2 separate regions of the Homo sapiens genome follow, and region 1 is linked to region 2. The links are contacts of gene promoters, found by promoter capture Hi-C in blood cells and fetal thymus (Javierre and others, 2016). All regions are on one chromosome and are shown on one strand. Each heading gives the region's core, a stretch centred on a gene start or on the middle of the fragment in contact. The rest is flanking DNA. Distances are from core to core; before and after follow the strand shown.

The links. Contacts are between HindIII fragments. The CHiCAGO score rates a contact against its expected background, and 5 or more counts as called.
Region 1: the fragment with the promoter of TNS2 here is called in contact with a fragment that was not itself captured in region 2 in 1 of 17 cell types (fetal thymus); the score reaches 6.0 in fetal thymus.

The regions. Positions count from the first base shown.
Region 1 is chr12:53,047,916-53,053,216 of GRCh38, forward strand. It overlaps TNS2 (tensin 2), which reads left to right and starts at 2,150. Exons shown (of 29, transcript NM_170754.4): 1 at 2,150-2,345; 2 at 3,940-4,048; 3 at 4,540-4,577. The coding sequence starts at 2,271. All of the region lies in intron 2 of TNS2-AS1 (TNS2 antisense RNA 1), which reads right to left. RefSeq lists a silencer at 1-8 and enhancers at 1-310, 311-1,154. The HindIII fragment of the contact is 14,276 bases long and covers 1-5,301 here.
Region 2 is chr12:53,321,786-53,327,062 of GRCh38, forward strand. SP7 (Sp7 transcription factor) reads right to left here. Exons shown (of 3, transcript NM_001173467.3): 3 at 4,790-5,277. Among named protein-coding and RNA genes, the nearest start is that of AAAS, 2.8 kb to the left of the region's middle. RefSeq lists an enhancer at 2,004-2,737 and a silencer at 3,051-3,550. The HindIII fragment of the contact is 2,736 bases long and covers 1-2,618 here.

The DNA.
Region 1 (5,301 bases), core at 900-3,399, 270 kb before region 2:
GCGGCCGGGCTCCCAGCCTCCCTTCCAACCACAGCTATTTCCAGAAAGGGGGGTGTGGGTGGAGGGGTTTCTCCAAACAAACCCAAGACTTCGGAGAGAGAGGGGGCCCGGCTGGGGGAGAGGTTGACAGGCTCTGGAATGTTACAGGCGGGAGGAGGGTGAGGGTCCAAGAGGGTCTAGTGATGCCTTCCCAGCCCTCCTCAAGTGAGCTACTTTTCCCCTCGGGACTGGCTCATAGGGATCCCATCCCTGCTTCCCTTCCGAGGTGCGAGTGCCACAGGATGGGAGGGACTCACAGCCACAGTGGATCCTGACCACCCCACCCCTCACCGAGCTCACTGCTTGGGCACCTCCTTGCTGGGTCTGGGTGGGGAGTGTGAGACCAGTGAAGGTGAGAGGATGTCTGGGGACCTGTTCCAGGTGAGGGGACTTTCAGCCCCTATGGAGGCAGCAGGAGAGTGAAGCATGTAGAGGAGTCCTGGTCAGGGCCATGTGCCATAGGAGCAGAAGCTGGGACTGGACAGAAAAAAGCCACCCCCACTGCCCACCTTGTCACACTGCCCCATCTCCCCCAAGCAGGGCTGGGGGCTCGACAAGGCCAGGCCCGGTTGCCCACACTGGCCGGGGGCCTGGAATGTGCTGGGACACAGCCAGGCTGGCAGGATGGGGGTGGGTCACAGAGCCCGTGCTCCTCTCCAGTTACAGGCAGGGAGCCCAGGCCTGCCACACAGATGCCACCTTCTGGCCAGGATATCCTGGGGACACATTTCTTGGCCTGGAAAATTGGAGCTTCCAGGGAGAGGTGTCAGGCTAGGCCCAATCCAGTCAGGTCCTCGCAAGGGTCTCAAGTGGGCACCCACAGCAGGCCTCACCCCAGAGAATGCAGGATTCTTCATCCCAGGGAACCCATCCTGGTGGATATGAAGGAGCAGGAAGCAAGTAGAAGGGACTCCGTGGGAGAAGCCAGGGCTGGGGGAGTTGCCTGAGTACTGGGACATTCAATAAATACCATGCAAATGAGAGGGGCACATTTGCACATTCTTTCAAGTGACAGCTATAGCCTGTCCCAGGGGCTGCTGTCCACAGCTTGGGGCTGAAGACTCCCAGGCCATTAACCCCTTAGCTTTTAGGAAGATTACTCCCCCTTTTTCAAGGCCCCATCCACCTCCCTCCCTTGACTCCCAGGACGGGAAGTTGGCCATGTTCCCAGGAGGGAGGCCGGAGGCCCATGGATGGGGGTGGAGTATGTGTTGGGAGGGGGGACCTCCTGTCCAGTCCTCAGGCCCTGGGACAGCTGCTGAGGAAGGAGAGCAGACCCAGGAGAGCCATGAAGGTAGTACTCAGGCTTCGGGGTTGCCGCGGGGGGAGGGTGCAGCCCTTGGGTAGAGAGCCCAAGTTGCAGGGCTGGAAAGAGGGCTAGGGATCTGTGAGATCATGTCTGAAACAAAGCCAGGGAATGGGTGAGTGGGGGGCACTGTGTCAGGAGCAGAAACCTGGGGGCTTTCAGGAGAAGGGCCTCATATGCCTTAGGCTGTGGCAGGAGAATGGATTACTCCCCAAACCTGAGCAAAGCAGTCTTGTGGCTGGAACTTGGCCTTGCAAGGTGTATTGAGGGTAAAGGTGGGCGGTGCATGCTTTCCTTTTCCTACTTCATAACGAGTGAAACTGAGACAGGAAGGGGGCCCCCAGTCCCATTTTTACCTGACTCTCAGGACACACTCGGGATCCTGGGCCTGCCTGCTGGTAGTAGTTCCCAGCTCCACTCCCTCCCCAGCGGAAGTCCCTCGAGAGCTTGAGAGTTCAGGCTGGAGCCTGGCTGGGACACACTGTTCCCCACTTGCCCTTTAGCCCTGCCCCGAGACCAGAATTCTCACCCGGCCCCACCGGGGGTGGGGGCAGAATCTCAAGACCATGGATCCCTGCAGATCCCTGGAGAGTGTGGTGTCCCAGGTGTGGGACAACTCCAGAGTTGGGGGAGTAGGGGGAGCAAAAGATCACAGGCTGACACTCCCAGCAGGGTAGATCCTGGGAATCTGATCTCCTGGCCTCCCCCACATCCTCCCCCCTCCACTTCCTGGAGCAGCGACCTGCCCCCTTCCCGCCTGCACTTCCCTCCACTTCCAGGGCCGGGCTTCTCCTCACACCAGCCAGACAGCCTACCCTCCGCCCAGGGGAAGCGGCTGCCTCCGCCAGGCCGCTTCCAGGAAGCCCCGGGCCAGGCCCCAGCATTGTTCAGGCCCTGGGGCCAGCACCCCAGCCAGCCGAACACCATGAAGTCCAGCGGCCCTGTGGAGAGGCTGCTCAGAGCCCTGGGGAGGAGGGACAGCAGCCGGGCCGCAAGCAGGGTAGGAGTGCCCACCAGCTGGGCAAAAGAGGGGCAGGGGTGGAGGTGCGGGCAGTGGGGGAGGGGACCAGGAATCAGGCCAGGCCTTCTTCCCAATTTCAGCTTCCTCAGCCTTCTTCCCTGGCCCAGCATCCCCTCCGGAGTGGCCAGGGCTGTAGTGTGAGGGGATGTTTGGGTTAGAGTAGGTCCTGCTGTCTGTTTTGGCTCCTCTCACCTTCCCTGCTCTAGCCTGGGCCAACCCCAGGAGGTCCTGGCCCCCCAACATAAGCCCCAGGTGCCTCACTGCAGGACTTTGCCATGCGCTATCCAGGTATCCTCCAGCAGGCTCAGAGATCATCAGGCCCCTTCCCTGGCCCAGGGAAGTTTGAGGGAAATGGGGTGGCAGGGTGGAAAAAGAGAGAGGAGAGGGAGTCAGGAGTGCTTTGGAACTGGAGGTTTGCTTTCCACTGACAACATCCATATCTGCTGCTAATGCCAACATGCTCCCAAGTGTCTTAGTGGGTCCCACAAAGTTGATCCAGCCCAGAAGAGTTGCAGGGACAGTCAAGAAACCAGAGGTGCTGCCCACATCCCCATCACTCCCTTTCCCAACTTCCCAGCCTTGCCCCAAAAGCAGCAGCTCAGGACAACCTGAGATACTACTGTGATGGGTCCCCGGGAGGAGGACAGCAGGAGTCTGAACTCCAGAGGAGGGGGAATATGGGTAAAACAGAGAGATGGCAAGGAGACAAGCTGTCCCCAGACAGAGGATGGGAGGAGAGAACCCACAGTGGGAGGGGAAGGGACTGAGATAGGCCTGGGCCATAAGGGGGCATCCCAGGCTCCTGCCTCACTGCATCTCTGGGTCAGGAGGGGCTGAACAGGGAATCTGGTCCACTCCTTTCTCATTCAATGCGTGAATCCCAAGTGCCAGGGTGCAGGGGGTCGGGGGAGAACTCACAGCATCCAAAGCCAGCTAAACATCTCTCCCCAGTGACAGGCTTCTATCTGTTTCCCTCCAGCATGACCACCCCCATTACACAATTGCTGTCTGCTGCCTCAGTGCACAATGAGTAAACATGTTGTTCTGACCGTGGGGGAGGAGGGCATGTCAGCTGCCTGGAGCGTGGGGACAGCAGGAGCTAAAGGAGCAGGACTGGCTGAGGCCACTCCTGCCGGCTCAGTCTGGTGCTGCAGGACTGACATACAACACATATGTTTGGAACCTCCCTGCTCACTCTGCACACAGGTCTCCATGCGGGGAGGACAAGATGGGAAGAGTCAGGGAGTACCCTTACCACACCAGGGGGAAAGCCTGAGCATGGAGGCTTTTCCACAAGGGCATCACACACCAGGGCCATGTGAGGGGCCCAAGTGATCCCCTGGGGAGGAGCTGACCCAGCAAAGGTGACGCAAGGGGTCAGATTCCATGCACAGTTGAGGACAGGCCCCATGACCGCCCTGAAGCAGCTGTGGCCAAGTGCGTCCTACAAGTTTGAGGGCTTGATCTGGACGGAGAAAACCAGTGCAGTGCTAAGGCAAGGCTCCTGCCCAGTCCCGGAGATGGAGATGGGCCCACTGGGAACTCACACCTCTGTTTGTCCCTCCACCTTCAGCCTAGGAAAGCTGAGCCTCATAGCTTCCGGGAGAAGGTTTTCCGGAAGAAACCTCCAGTCTGTGCAGTATGTAAGGTGACCATCGATGGGACAGGCGTTTCGTGCAGAGGTGAGGCTCTCTGTCCTGTGACTCTGAGACCCTCCACCCAGTACCACTGTGTTGCACAACTCCAGCAGGCCAGCTCACACAATCTCAAATGTAATATGCTGCTCCTGGATTAGGCACAATGGCAGCTAAGAAGCAGCTGCCTCCCCCTTCAGATGGCCCTGGCTCCCCATGACAGACACCTCCCATAACCCAGGAGAGCCAGTACTCTCCATCACCTTCCCATCCTGACTTGTGACGGTAGTCTTCCTTCCCTCTCTTCCTCCTCACCTCCACCCACCCTGGAACGTTACCCCTGGCCTGGGCAGTAGTACCCCACTGCCACACTCTTCCCTCAAAACCTAGCCCTGCTCCTCTGCCCCAGCCAGCCCAGTCCAGGTGGGATCTTGGAAGTCCCAGGGTCTGGTTCCAGGGTCTGGGAGATGAGGGAAGGCCATTCCTTCCACTGTCCCACAGGCCCCTGCTAACCCCTCTCCTCCCCTTACCTTCCCTAGTCTGCAAGGTGGCGACGCACAGAAAATGTGAAGCAAAGGTGGGTATCTGATTCTACCTGATAGGGGGAGAGGGTCTGGAGTCCCTTCCTCCTCCCAAACAGGCTTCTGCAACCACACTGGCATCAACCCTCCACCTCCACCCCTCTCACCACTGGGGAACCCCTCCTGGGTGGGAGGGGTGCTGTACTGGGCCCTTTAAGAACCACCCTACTCCGCCTTCTGGAGGGCTGGCCAGCCCAGGCGGGTGGACAGCAAGACAGCGTTTGTCTTGGTGCTGTGCCCAGACTGCAGCTGGCGAGAGGATGGGGGTGGGGAAGAGGAGGAGAATGAGGAGGAGGAAGGGTGGGGTGGGTGGGGAGTGGGGGAGCAGGATTTCAGAGACTGGGCAGCCGGATGGGCTGTGCCTTCCCTCTGGGGAAGGGTCCTCAAAATGCCTGGGCGGGTCTTGTCCTGGGCCCTGGAAAAACTGGGCCTTTCCAGGTATAAGCTGTGGATAGCACCCACTGTCCACTGGGGACCTGAGACAGCCCTGTCTCTGAAGAGGTCCCCTGGTCCTCTTCCTTCAGGACAGGGGGAGGAGGATCCCAGGGCCCTGGAGCTGGCTTGGGGGAGCTGTGTGCCCAGGGGCGGGGTCTCCCGGTGAAAGAAGCCAGTGTCCATCCCTGGCCATGGCCTGCCTGCTTGGCTCTATATATAACTCCTGCCCTACAGCTGGATGAATGGGGGTCTGTGTGGGCTGGGGGCTGAGCGCCAAGAGCAACA
Region 2 (5,277 bases), core at 1-2,500:
GTTTTTCCCAGCTCCGAATTCCCGAACACCTTCTCCCACTCACTATCTTAGCGCTTAGAAAGCCCGAAATAAGCCACATTCAGGGAAGTACCAAATTAATCCTCCCAGGCCTGTGGATCACCCAGAGGAAAATACAGGCTATGTCACAGGCAGCTGGCTGGAAAGCTGAGGGAAAAGCCTCAGAGAGGAGGAACAGTGCTGCACCCACACGGTTAGGCGTCCTGGAAAGGGAGGTGGGGACGGTTGGAAAACTAACATTTCCTGCCAGGCGCGGTGGCTCACGCCTGTAATCCCAGCACTTTGGGAGGTCGAGGTGGGTGGATCATCTGAAAGGAGTTCGCAGACTAGCCTGGCCAACATGCTGAAAACCCCATCTATACTAAAAATACAAAAATTAGTCGGGCGTGGTGGCGGGCACCTGTAATCCCAGCTAATCGGGAGGCTGAGGCAGGAGAATCTCTTGAACTCCGGAGGGGGAGGTTGCAGTGAGCCAAGATCGCACCATTGCACTCCAGCCTGGGTAACAAGAGGGAAACTTCGTCTCAAAAAGGAAAACTTTATTTTATTTTATTTTTTTGAGAGACAGGGTCTCGCTCTATTGCCCAGGATGAAGGCAGTGGTGCTATCTCAGCTCACTGCAACCTCTGCCTCCCCGGTTCAAGCGATTATCCTGCCTCAACCTCTGGAGTAGCTGGGATTACAGGCATGCTTCACCACGCCCAGCTAAGTTTGTATTTTTAGTAGAGACGAGGTTTTACCATGTTGGCCAGGCTGGTCTCAAACTCCTGACCTCAAGTGATCTGCCTGCTTTGGCCTCCCAAATTGCTGGGATTACAGGCCTGAGCCACCTTGCCGGGCTGCAAAACTATTTCCTGAGCACTTGTTACGATAAGTGCTTTTATAATCTTTACAACCCCATAAGGTGGGTGCTGTTCTGTCACCATGAGGAAAGTGAGTCACAGAGAGATTGGACCTAGATACACCCAAACCAGTTATTCTCACTTAAGAATAAAAGTAAGGCTGGGTGTGGTAGCTCACACCTGTAATCCCAGCACTTTGGGAGGCCGAGGCTGATCTCTTGAGCCCAGGAGTTCAAGACCAGCTTGGGCAAAATAGCAAGACCCTGTATCTACAAAAAATTCAAAAGTTAGCCAGCGTGGTGGTGGCAAGCGTCTTTAGTCCAGCTACTCAGAAGGCTGAGATAGGAGAATCCAGACTACAATGATCCAAGATAGCACCACTGCACTCCAGCCTGGGTCAAAGAGCGAGACCCTGTCAAGCAAGCCAGAGAGAAAGAGCCGGGCGCGGTGGCTCACGCCTGTAATCCCAGCACTTTGGGAAGCTGAGGTGGGCTGATCCCCTGAGGTCGGGATTTCGAGACCAGCCTGACCAACATGGAGAAACCCCATCTCTACTAAAAAATACAAAACCAGCCAGGCATTGTGGTGCATGCCTGTAATCCCAGCTACTCGGGAGGCTGAGGCAGGAGAATCCCTTGAACCTGGAAGGCGGAGGTTGCAGTGAGCAGAGATCGCGCCACTGCACTCCATCCAACCTGGGCAACAAGAGCGAAACTCCGTCTCAAAAAAAAAAAAAAACAAAAAACAAAACAAAACAAAAAAAAATGGGAGGGAAGGGAGAGGGAGAAAGAAAGGAAAGAAAGAAAGAGAATGGGGGCCCCTCTTACAGACTTTGGAAAAAACATTGAATTCTTTGAGTCTCACTTTTCTCATTTGCAGTGTCCTAATTATTTCATATGGTTGTTTTCCATACAAAATAATAAAATGAAGCTATTTAATAAATTTTAAAGTGCTAAACAAATGTCAGAGGTTAATAGCTATAACTGTGCCATCAACTAGGTGACCTTGGTCAGAGTTCATTAACAAATGTTAAGTGATTTGAAGATGTAGAAGGCTGTCCCCACTCCCAAGAGCTACCAGTCTCATTGAATAATCTAGGGGGCATTTAGTTCTAGTATTCTGGATTCCGTGTCTGCCCTTCTTTTTCACCTGAAAAATTCCCCCCAAGAGAGTTATTACCAGGTCAGAAAACAAAGGGCTCCAGAGTCTCCTGAAAATGCACTTCACCTGAGAAGGCAAGTGGATCTCCTCTAATCTAGTACTTCTCAACTGTTAAGGGACATAGGAATCACCTGAGCATCTCCTAAGGTGGCGCTCAGAGGCTATAGTTCCAAAGAATCCCCAGCTGATACTGCACAGACCACATTTTAAGTAGCAAGGCTCTAACCTAGCGGTCCCCAACTTTTTGGCACCAGGTTTAGTGGAAGACAGTTTTTCCAGGGGGAGCGGGGGAGGGAATGGTTTGGGGATGAAACTGTTACACCTGAGATCATCAGGCATTAGTTGGATTCTCATAAAAAGCGGGCAACCTAGGTCCTTCACGTGCGCAGTTCACAACAGAGTTCGCGCTACTATGAGAATCTAATGCCGCTGATCTGACAGGAGGCGGAGCTCAGCTTGCTCAGCTCGTCTCCGGCTGTGCGGTTCCTTTACAGGCCACCGACACGACGGGCCGTGGCGCGACCCCTGCTCTAACCTTTTCCCATAGCCCCATTTAATTTCCTATGTGAGTTCACCGTCACCTGGGAAGTCACAGAAAGCTTGAAGAACATAAGGTATACACTGGGGATGGTTTGGGGAACCTGGCTGGGAAAGCCTCCCTGAGAAGGGGAAGTGGGCAGGTTTGAGGGAGAGGAAGTCGGTGACTGACAGATTAGTGGAGAGCACTGAGGACCCACGATAGTTTCCGTTTGTACCTTAGTCGTAACACCATCCAAACCCAGATACCCCTAGGAAAAATCACTCCGGCCTGCAACTTGCATCCTTCGATGAAACCTCGATTTTCACCATCAGGTTATAATGATCGGTTAGGTGCCTGCTTCTTACCCTGTAAGGTGAACTGGAGAGAAGGAACAGTGCTGTTCCGCCCGCTGCCCCCGCCCTGGCCTGGCACAAGTACTGTCCCCTCCTCCATACTGCTTATTTAACGTTTGTGGAACGCTTTTCACCATTTGCGGGTTCTAGAAAGGCCCAAGTCCAGGCCCGGCGCGCTCACCCAGTAACTTCACCAGGGGGCGCGGCTGGCCAGGCAACGCAGCGACCGTGACCCACGCCCTATGGGCTCCGAGCGCTTAGCGGGCGGTCTCCGCCGGCCCCTCCCTACGACCTGGGCGGGAACCGAGAGAGCGCGCAGGCCGCTTCTAAAAGGGGCCCCCTACTTTGGGAGTCGTCACCGGAGCCTGGGTGCCCGGAGCTCCGCCCGCTACCCCTTCCCGGGCCCGCTGGAGCCCGGCGTCCCGACCCGGGGCCGGTAACCAGGCGCACATGGCCCGCCCGGCCCTGTTTGTCCTGGCAGCGCGCCGCCGCTATTTGAAGCGGTTTTTATCTCCCAGAAACCAGCAAAACCCCAAGCGGAGTCTAGGGAAGATGAAAGGGGCCGAAGGGTTGGGGAGGGGAGGACCGCGAGGCTGCGGCGGGCGGGAGCTGGCACCGGACAGGCGGAGACCGGGAGGCGAGAGGGCCAGACTCTGGGGGGTCCGGAGGAGCCCGCCCGGCGGGGTTGAGGCGGGATCCCGGGGTTCCACTCCAGGCCGCCGCCTCGCTCAGACCAGCTCCAAGGCGCCCCCCGCCTTTCCTCTGCCCCAGCCCCCTCTCCCGGGTCTCTTCCGTCACAGCCCCCAGCCCACTAAAGAAGTCTTCGGAACTCGGATTTCTTCAAAGCGCCTTTGAAGTCGCGCGCCCAGCCGGAGGGCAGGAGATTTCGCACCTGGGCGGGGGCGGGAGTGGCGTCAGGGTGGGGAGGGGGCTCGTAACCCGAGCCCCCCCAGGATCGCCGGCCCCCTCCCACCCGTAGCAGCCCCTCTTGCGACCCGTGCGGTGGACAGTCCGACGCGGGGCGCAGCTGGGAGTCGGGCCCAGGCCGGGGGGAGCGGCCTGTGAGCCCCCTCAGCCCAGCGGGGTAACCTTGGGGGGCGGGGGCCGCACAAAGCCCTATTGTGGCTCGGGGATGCTGCCACAGAGTGGTTTTTGTTCTTCGGCTAACTCCGTGGCGGGCACGACTGATTGCAGACCCAGGGCAGGGGGCGGGTTACGTGCCAGGCCCAGTCTGCCCGCCGGGAGCCGCACCACCGCCCGACTGGGGCCGCGCAGGAGTCCGCACTGCAACCGCGGTGCCCGCGCTCGGGTCGCGTCACTGCCCTGACCAGGGTCAGTTGGTGCAGTCCAGAAAGGGCCAGGGTAGAAACCAGTGAGTCTTCCCAACTCTGCAGAAAGCACTGCACGCCCAAAAACTGAACACCGCTGGAGGATTTGACCGAGAAACAATTTTGTTTTGTGTTTTGTTTTGAGACGGAGTCTCGCTCTGCAGCCCACGCTGGAGTGCAGTGGCGCGATCTCAGCTCACTGCAACCTCCACCTCCCAGGTTCCACGATTCTTCTGCCTCAGCCTCCCAAGCAGCTGGGATTACAGGCACCTGCCATCACGCCCGGCTGATTTTTGTATTTTTTAGTACAGACAGGGTTTCATCATGTTAGCGAGGATGGTCTCGAACTCCTGACCTCAGGTGATCCGCCCTTCTGGGCTTCCCGAAGTGCTGGGATTACATGTGTGAGCCACCACGCCCGGCCGATAAACTATTTTACCGCGAGCATAGGTGAGCAAACGTGCACAATAGAATATTCGCCCATGAGTAGTCCCCAATTTGCTAAGGAAAAAAAACCATTGGCCCTCGCTTCACCCTTCCTCTTCTCCTTTTCTCACCAGGACAAAATTTCAAATCCAACTTTTATTTATTAAATTAAAAAAAAAAGACTCCACAAAGGGCATGATCCCTTCCATTCCACAATGTTCTCTCCCCAAGCTCCAGCGGCTTTAACCCTTTAACTTGGGGCCTTGAGACAGCAGGGGACAGAAAAGGAGGATCCAACGTTACAGGAAAGGCACGAAGCGGCTTTAAAAGTCACTGGAGGTGGAGATGGGAGCATCCAAAGTCCCAGGGTGGGGGTGCGTGGATGCACCACCAGATCAGCTTGGGGGCCTCTGTCCTCCTAGCTCTTTAAGTTCTTTCTCAGGGCTTCTAGGCACCAGATCTAGCATAGTGCCTTGCACAGAGTAGGCACTCAATACATACTTATTTGAATCTGATCCTAGAGAAAGCCTTCCCCACCCATTCTTCAGGAGGTGCACCCCCAAACCAATGTCCTCCTGTTAGATGGGCTTCCCCAAAGAGCACATCTAAGATGGCAGCTGCAAGCTCTC